Regions from separate parts of the Homo sapiens genome. Here region 2 is linked to region 1. The links are contacts of gene promoters, found by promoter capture Hi-C in human tissues and cell types (Jung and others, 2019). All regions are on one chromosome and are shown on one strand. The core of a region is centred on a gene start or on the middle of the fragment in contact, and the rest is flanking DNA. Distances in the headings are between cores, read along the strand shown.

Evidence for each region. The method cuts DNA at HindIII sites, captures the fragments that hold promoters and counts their contacts. A contact is called where the count stands out against the background at its distance.
Region 2: a contact is called between the fragment with the promoter of KRTAP21-1 here and the fragment with the promoter of CLDN8 in region 1, in 1 of the 25 tissues and cell types used here (heart right ventricle).

What each region holds. Positions count from the first base shown.
Region 1 is chr21:30,213,158-30,217,602 of GRCh38, forward strand. It overlaps CLDN8 (claudin 8), which reads right to left and starts at 2,940. Exons shown (of 1, transcript NM_199328.3): 1 at 849-2,940. The coding sequence starts at 2,768. The coding sequence ends at 2,091. The HindIII fragment of the contact is 13,225 bases long and covers 1-4,337 here.
Region 2 is chr21:30,752,737-30,756,845 of GRCh38, forward strand. It overlaps KRTAP21-1 (keratin associated protein 21-1), which reads right to left and starts at 2,692. Exons shown (of 1, transcript NM_181619.2): 1 at 2,279-2,692. The coding sequence starts at 2,642. The coding sequence ends at 2,403. The HindIII fragment of the contact is 10,114 bases long and covers 1-4,109 here.

The DNA.
Region 1 (4,445 bases), core at 1,690-4,189:
TGCTGGGGGTGGTGGCACATGCCTGTAATCCCAGCTACACAGGAGGCTGAGGCAGGAGAATCGCTTGAACCCAGGCAGTGGAGGTTGCAGTGAGCCAAGATTGCACCACTGCATTCTGGCCTGGGTGACAGAGTGAGACTCTGTCTCAACTAAAAAAATTTACAAAAAAAAAAGACAACTAAAAGTTTTCCCAACTCATGGTAGTTAAGTGTGTCATTTTAACATATAAAAATTCGTGTTTAAACTAGACATTGCTGAAAAAATAATTCACTTTCCTTGAGAGAAAGAGTGTTGAGCTATGAGTCCAGGCAGCCTTTTTATAAATCTCCTGATTCTATTGAGTAATCAATGAATTGTTCTGAGATAGCCTCATCTTTGAATTGAACTAATAACATTATCAGTCTCATAAAAGATTTAATAACAATTCATATAAGCAGTAGAGGTCCTAGCATGTAATACATGCCCCCAGAACATTAGACAATATTATTTATTATTTCTCAGAAGTAGAAATATATATTTAGCTACAGAAAATTTTTCAAACCTGGCTGTTATATACATAATATTTATAACATATAGATTTGCTTGAATTTATAGTACTATCTTAAATTATAAATATATTATCTGCATTGAATATTGGTATAGGGATCCAATGATTATAAGGTATATTGTTGTTAAATAACATAAATAACATAGAGTACTTTATATTTTCAAAAATTAATGCACTGTTTGTCTTTACAAGGCAAATCTTGACATTCTTTCTCAATTTGGAGAATAAAAAATTATCAGGCTTTTCAACATTCTTCTACAAGTTAATAAAACAGAAACAAAAGGAGACTTGTGAAAGAATGTCAAATAATTAGAAAAATGTACAATTTATTAATATAAATGTATAAAGCAAATAGAACACATTCATTTAAGCTAGACAGACGTCGACACAAACTTTCAAATTGGATTGTCAGTTTCATCAAATTTGGAATAAACAGAAAAATACAGTATTTACAGATTTTAGTAAAACTAAACAGAAATGGTACAAGAAGGAAATTTATTTTTCACAGAACAAAAATGACAATTTTGACTCAGGTACCCACATAGGAGCAGGTGAAGTTCTCAAAGGACAACTTTTTTTGTTGTTGTTTTTTTGGTAAGCAAATGAAAACCAAGACATATTTTTCTGCTCTTTTATTTATATTGATGAAACCTCAAAGTCTGTACTCAAATACTTATTAAAATATATCCATACATATATGATTTCTTGTCAAAATGCATCATTCTTCTTCAAATACAAAAACAAAAATATTTTCACTTTCCTAAAACCATCACTTTTTCTTAGATCACACTTTTATCTTTCTTCTGAGTATAGCCCTGGAAAAGCAGTTTGAATGCAAAGCCCCTTGACAAAATATCTGCTTTTTAAAAATGTTAATTTAATACACAAGAAAAAAAAAGCCTCTGGGAGAAGAGGATAAAGAAGTTAGGATTTCTAACTCCTAGGCTAAAAAACAGCATATCAGAAAGCCATTCAATTTCCTTTACAATGCTGATTAAAGCCTTCATTTTAATCTTCATTATAAATGGAGGACATTAATCCCTAAGCTGTTTTTAAACAATTAATAGTAACCTTCTTCAACCCTATCCATGATTTCCCTGAAAAGCAATAGTTGAGTTCTATTTATTCAGTGTAATGGACTGGCATTTCATTTTAAATAAAACCATATAAGCATGTCTCTATGTGAGATATAAATGTTACACTCATCTATGTACATAATGCTATGTCGTGGAGAAATTACAGTAGTAAAATAATGCAGTCTTTAGCAATGTCATTTTGAAGTAAATGATAAAAAGAGTAGATGCTTGAACCACCTTAGAAAACAAATTACTATACTTTCTAGAACAATCAAAGCATTGGGTTTAATATCTCATTCTGCTGAAATAGCTTATAGAATCATAAATAGCTGATGCACAGTTCCTGTAATTAAGATTAGGCAGTTAAGAACAGTAAATCAAAGTTTCTTTGGGGTCCATTTTGAGAAAGTAATATAGATTTTTGTCATTTGCATGGCTTTATAGTAAAGTTAAAAAAACATACACAACTACACATACTGACTTCTGGAGTAGACGCTCGGTGACTTCTTTCCGGTGTGATAACTTTTTTGGGTTGTGCGATGGGAAGGTATCGAGTATCTGTAGCTACTGCTCTTTTCGTTGCAACAAAAAACGCAGCAGAACAGAGCTCCTCCAACAATCAGCACCAGTGCCGTGGTCCATCCTAAGTAGAGAGCTTCTCCAAGCTCACGTTTTTGGGCAACATTCACTATTGAGTTATAGAAATCTCTGATGATGGCATTGGCAACCCAGCTCACAGGGATGAGCACCACCATGCCCGTGATGATGAAGATGATTCCAGCCGTCAGCAGAATGTGAGCCTTCACCTTCTCATTGTCCCCCGTGCACCTGGTGCATTTCATGCCAAGGATGGCCATCATGAAAGCCAAGAAGGACATCACGGAAGCAGCACACATCAGTCCTCTGGCTGCCTGTAGGTCCGGAGAAAGAGCCAGCAGGGAATCATAGATTTTGCACTGCATCCTGATGTTAGCCTGCCTCACGCAATTCATCCACAGTCCTTCCCAGAAGTTTTCAAAAACCACGATGTTGTTTTCAATGAAGGCCGACACTCTCCACTGAGGCATGACAGTGACAGCCACTGTGCCCACCATTCCAACACCACCAAGAAACAGCCCAGCGATTTCTAAGGCATGGGTTGCCATTATCCTCTGGGATGAGTTTTAGCCAGCTGGACTCCGGAACTGCTACTTCTGCTTTGAAGCAGGGTTCTCTGTGCCACAGAAGAGAACAGTTTTTCCTGTAGTAATGAACTCGGAACCCAGTGGTTTTTCAAATAAGAGCTGCTTTGCTACTTCTGGCCAGATAGTATCCAGTGCTGGCTGGCTGAGATGGCCCTGCTATTGGCTGCAACAGGTAAACTTACAAATCAGGTGTGGCAACTTTCTCAGCCAATAAAAGGTGGATGGTAATCCAGGTGTGTCTAAACCAACACTTGGGTACTTGGAACAGCTAGACCTGCACATAAACATTCTTTATACTTCTCGGTCTTCCAAGAAGACAGCAGTATGTTTACCTGTAGGCATAGTTATAAGTGGTTGCATAAGCATCAAGAAATGAGCCGATCCCTTGTAATGTGAAAGGTGCACCTTGTACAGGCAATTCTGAAACTCTTAATAAGAGCTGCTGGGACCAAGGGATAAAATAAATTATCTGCCGAAGAATTCTGCAACGCTGTTGAAATGCCAAAGTGAAACGAGAGTAGGGGATTGAAAGATTGCTTTTACCTGGGAAGCCACATTCTTTGGGACACATGTGATCCAAGTGATTGATTTAATTTTTCTACAACTTCAAAGCAAGCTCTACTGTGGTGAAATCAGGGAACAGATCATGCCAGAGGACAAAATAAGCTAAAGTAATTAAATACACAAGGCTGTCCTTCTCCTTGGCACTGAAAACATATTGGAGTTCTTTAAGCCAGAAAAAATACTCATTGACACTTTTCTGATAATCTTCACTTATAAAAACATTTTTTGCCAAAATAAAAATCACCAGATGATTATCTTATGTATCCAGCACTATAGCATTAAAATAAGCTTATGAGCTTATTTTGTGGTGTTATTCTTGCTGCTTTGAATTCCTGGGCTGAAGGAACTAGAATTCTGAAGATGACACAAGACCCTTGGGCCTATACAAATGGCTGATATTTCAAAATAAGATATTTACAAGACAAGGGAACTATATTTACCAAACTGTATTATATTAGGTATTAACCAAATATGTTTTCCTACCTTTTAATATTATGTCTGCAGTAGGACATAGAAACCCCTAAACGCAAGACAATTTGAACTTTCTTCTCAAAATAATGATGCTCTAACAGTAGTGCTATACTAAGCATAAATGTTTATCTGAGAAAATTCGACTAGCAATTTTCTTCTGGAGATCACCTTAAGCTCTCTGTCTGATCTTTCCAAAGTTTAAGCTGCCACTTCATTTTCTTTTCTTCTTAACATCATAAAAAATGATTTTCTCTTTACAGTTTTACTTTCTCTCTGTTTCATTGGACTACCTTAAATCCAAATATGGGAGAAAATCGTTTCTGCTCACTGATTAAACTTTGAGAGTTTCATGGTTCAAAAAATCTGAGTCATTTGTGGATATTATTAAAACAAAAACTATATGGTAGAAAGGGCAAAAGGAGGATCAAGTAGACTGTCTTCTAAAAAAGAGGCAGGACAGACGCACAGTAGTATGAGTTGTTATAATTTTGTTAAACAGACGTTATAAACCTTATAAAAAGTTAAAACTTAATATTTACAGAAATATTCTCATTTGTTGACCTGTGAGGTGCCAAACTTCAGGGTGTCCCTTAGGCTGATGCA
Region 2 (4,109 bases), core at 1,442-3,941, 540 kb after region 1:
ATTTTCTTAAACTGAGATAATCACAATATTTCAGGTTTTGAAGATAAGTTAAGTGTTATCCACTGCTTGTAATACTATAATAACTTCAGAGTTCCAGACAGCACAGTTAGTCCTCAGATCTGACTCACAAATACTCCAGATGGGAAAGCTATCCTGCTCTTGGAAGAAACCCCTATTGTCCATCAGTCGGACAGATTCTATCCTGGACATAGATTTCCTCCTGGGCTGATATTGATTGTAGGGCTATCTTTCTTAGAGCCAGGCATTTTGTGGGGTCACCCAGCTCCAGGGACCTCAGAGAGCCAGACTTGGTGTAATGGTCCCTGTTGTGTGGATGAAACAGGGACACATTTATTACTGCTGATTATAACAAGTTTCTACTGAATCCAGAAGACTTTCTCTGTTGTAAGATTTCAGTGATAGAGTTTGGATGGTCTAGAACTGGAGGAAAGGACACTAAAATCAGAATCAAAGAAGCAGTAAACACTCCACATCAGAAAGTCAGCCAGGAAACTAGAACAGACCCTTTAATCTCATTTTTATGACCACCCCAATCTAAAAAGAACTCCATTAAGATACTAGACCTTGCTCTTTTCTAACTGAAAAATGTGTCATCACCTTCATCATACCCAAAACTTAATGAACTGCTGTCCCCCTTGGCATTTGCTACTGTCCTTTTTAGTCTTTCTTTGCTGCTGGAAATGTTGTATTATGAGCTCAAATGTCATAACCTCAAGATACTTCCCTGAGCTGTCTCTCCAGTACTTCAAACCTTAATCTCCTCTCCATTAAGCTGTTTCATTCCCTCTATAGCAATTATCTGTCTGAATTTGTTATAATTAGTTTTTGCTTCATTATTATTATTATTATTATTATTAATTATTTTAGACAGAGTTTTGCTCTTGTTGCCCGGGCTGGAGTGCAATGACGCAATCTTGGCTCACTGCAACCTCCATCTCCCAGGTTCAAGCGATTCTCGTGCCTCAGCCTCCCAAGTAGCTGGGATTACAGGCGCCCATCACCACGCCTGGCTAATTTTTGTATTCTTAGTAGAGACGGGGTTTCGCCATGTTGGCCAGGCTGGTCTCGAACTCCTGACCTCAAGTGATCCACCTGCCTCAGCCTCCCAAAGTGCAGGGATTAACAGGCATGAGCCACCACATCTGGCCTATTTTTGCTTCTTTAAATCTTCATCTGTTAGACTATAAACATTCTGAGAGCAGAACATTTGCTTATAATTTTTCTTCTGTGTCTTCAGGATGGTGTCTATTCAAAAATATTTAAGTGAATTAAATAGCATTTCTCAACCTCCATGTAAGCAAACATATATATTTGTACTTTTGTCAGATGTAGATACATTTGATAGTATATTTTTTCTTTGAACTTACCCTTTTTTAGGTTTTTATTTCCTCTTGCCTAACACTTGACCCTGACTCAAAATTTTCAACAATCCTGGAAGTGATCTCTCCTATTGCATTACTTTTTTTTGTGTGTGTGATGGAGTCTCAGTGTGTCACCCAAGCAATCTCGGCTCACTGCAACCTCCACCTCCTAAGGGTTCAAGCAATTCTCCTGTCTCCACCTCCTGAGTAGATGGAATTACAGGCACGCACCACCAAGCCCAGCTAATTTTTGTATTTTTAGTAGAAACAGAGTTTCACAATGTTGGCCAGGCTGGTCTCGAACTCCTGACCTCAGGTGATCCACCCACCTCAGCCTCCCAAAGTGCTGGGATTATATTACTTCTTTAAGCACTCAGGCTATATCTCCTCCCTGAGACTTTTGTCATAACATCCTGAATAGGTGTCACTTTGCCTCCCTTTCCCCCTCCAGCTCCATTCTAGACACTCAGTGCCATTTCCAAAGCACAGTTCTGAAATACTCTGTGATTTGTGCTTGGGTATGTGAGAACCTGAGCATGTGGGATATGAGAAGCAGGTAGAGAAGACATTATTTATGATGCAAGCATAAGAGGAAATAATTGCGTTATATCAAGGAAGTACCTAAGGTTCAGCCAACATACTGTTAGCCCAATTTTCAAGAGATTCCAAAACACCCCAAGAAAGAGTAATTCACAAGCAAGTACACAAAGATTTTTAGGAATAAAGAACCATTTTTATTACAAATGATTGACTTCCGCAACTGTAGATGTTATGATCATTAACACAGTCATAACAGAGAATCAGAGATTAAGGGAGCAAAAGATAACATTTGGAAAACAGTCAGATGACACCATGGATCCTATGGCCATGATTTCATTCAAAGAAATGTGAGGCTAGAGGTCGAAGATTCTGTCAAGCATGTAATTCTTGGATATAGAAATCTTGGAGTACGAATCCTTGAATCAGCATTATCTTCAGACGTGTCATTTTAGAAGCAAATGGTCCTCCGACAGTGATGTTTTAGCAGGAAGAATAGCATCTTCTAAAGCAAAATGGCCGGTAGCCACAGTAGCCAGAGCCAGAGCCATATCCACAGCCATAGCCAGTTCCATAACCACAGCCATAATGGGAGCCAAACCCACAGCCATACCCACAGCCATAGCCAGTTCCATAGCCACAGCCACAGCCAGAGCCAGAGCCATAGCCACAGCCACAGCCGGAGCCATAGCCACAGGAGTTGCCGTAGTAGTTGCAACACATGTTGTCAAGAGGAGAGAATTGAGATGGGTTTCAAGAAGATGCTTCTGAGGTGTGGATGTCTTCTACTTCCCTGAGACCTTTATATACTGTCAGTAATTGCCAAAGCATATCACTCATTCCCTGACTTAGGCAACAAATATTTAATCAATTATTATGTGCCAGTCACTGTTGACCATCAATAATATTTTGCTTAAAATGAGCCAATTATTTTGGAGACTCTAGTTTCATTTCAGGAACATCATTTTAATCTGCTCTGCCAAAGAACTGCCTCAATGAAATCATGTGCCCAAATATAAAGCTGATACTAATTTTCAAAATCTCCTATCAGTAAATTTATATCTTACATAACAAGTTTTGGGAGGATAATAACAAAATTTTATCCTTTTTTTCCTCTCTTTTTTCCTAAAATGTCTACCTCTACCCATAGGGAAGGAGACACTCCTATCTCCTTTCCTGAGTCATTACAACTTCTTGCCAGACTTCTTTCTCCAACTCACTCTGCACTTCCACACCTACCCCTTGTCCAACCTCCCTCAAATCCCAAGAAACATATTCACATCTGATCATTCAAAGCCAGAATGTATGCTATCTGCAAGTGCTTCCTACATTTTCCTTCCATCCACCAGGCAAACCAAGACCCTGGGGAGGCAGAGAAGCCCTCCTTTTGTCTCCCATTTCTTCAGCTATATAAGTAATTGTCATTGAGGAGCCTTTTTAAAACTAAACAGCTTCATTTGGATAAGGAAGTAAAAAAATTCATTCGACCAGAAACTCAGTTCTTTCCTCCAATACAGATTTCATCAAAGTTTTGCATGATGAAATACAGATACATTCCTAGAATTTAATAAACCATTTTTCTTCTCCTTTCACTACTATTCCTTGGACATTTACTTCAGAAGCTAAAGGATAGTGGACAATTTTAGGTTACTGACAGCAAAAGCCCACCATTAACAACTAACCCTTCTATGATATAAAGTAGCACAAAAATAAATTTTGTCCCGTTTCCATACACGCATTTCACACTACTCATTCAAAATTCTCAATTACCCACTTATTACAAGTTCTCAATCTTCTACAAAAATATTCATCGTGATTTTGAAATCCGAGGTGCCCTCCTTCTTCCCAACAATCCTCTCTATCACACTTACCTTTTCAAGATACAAAAGAGGAAAATTAGTATCATTTTTTCTGCCATTAGTATTTTTCTCATCACCCTCAATTATCAACCAAAAAAACCTTCTGTTTATACATCAAAAGTCAGATCTGGAATCACTTTCTACAGGATGCCTTTCCTCATTGCTACTGTGGATTACATTTTCCCTTCAGTTGGAAATCTTTCCTTTTTTTTCTGCTATCTGTCACTCGTCTCATCTCATTTCTCTGCTATGTTTAGTCCCTTAAAAAAAGCATAAATAGATCTCTGTCTCAATTTTTTCTTTTCCTTTAGTTTCTTTCTGTTTTTTCATC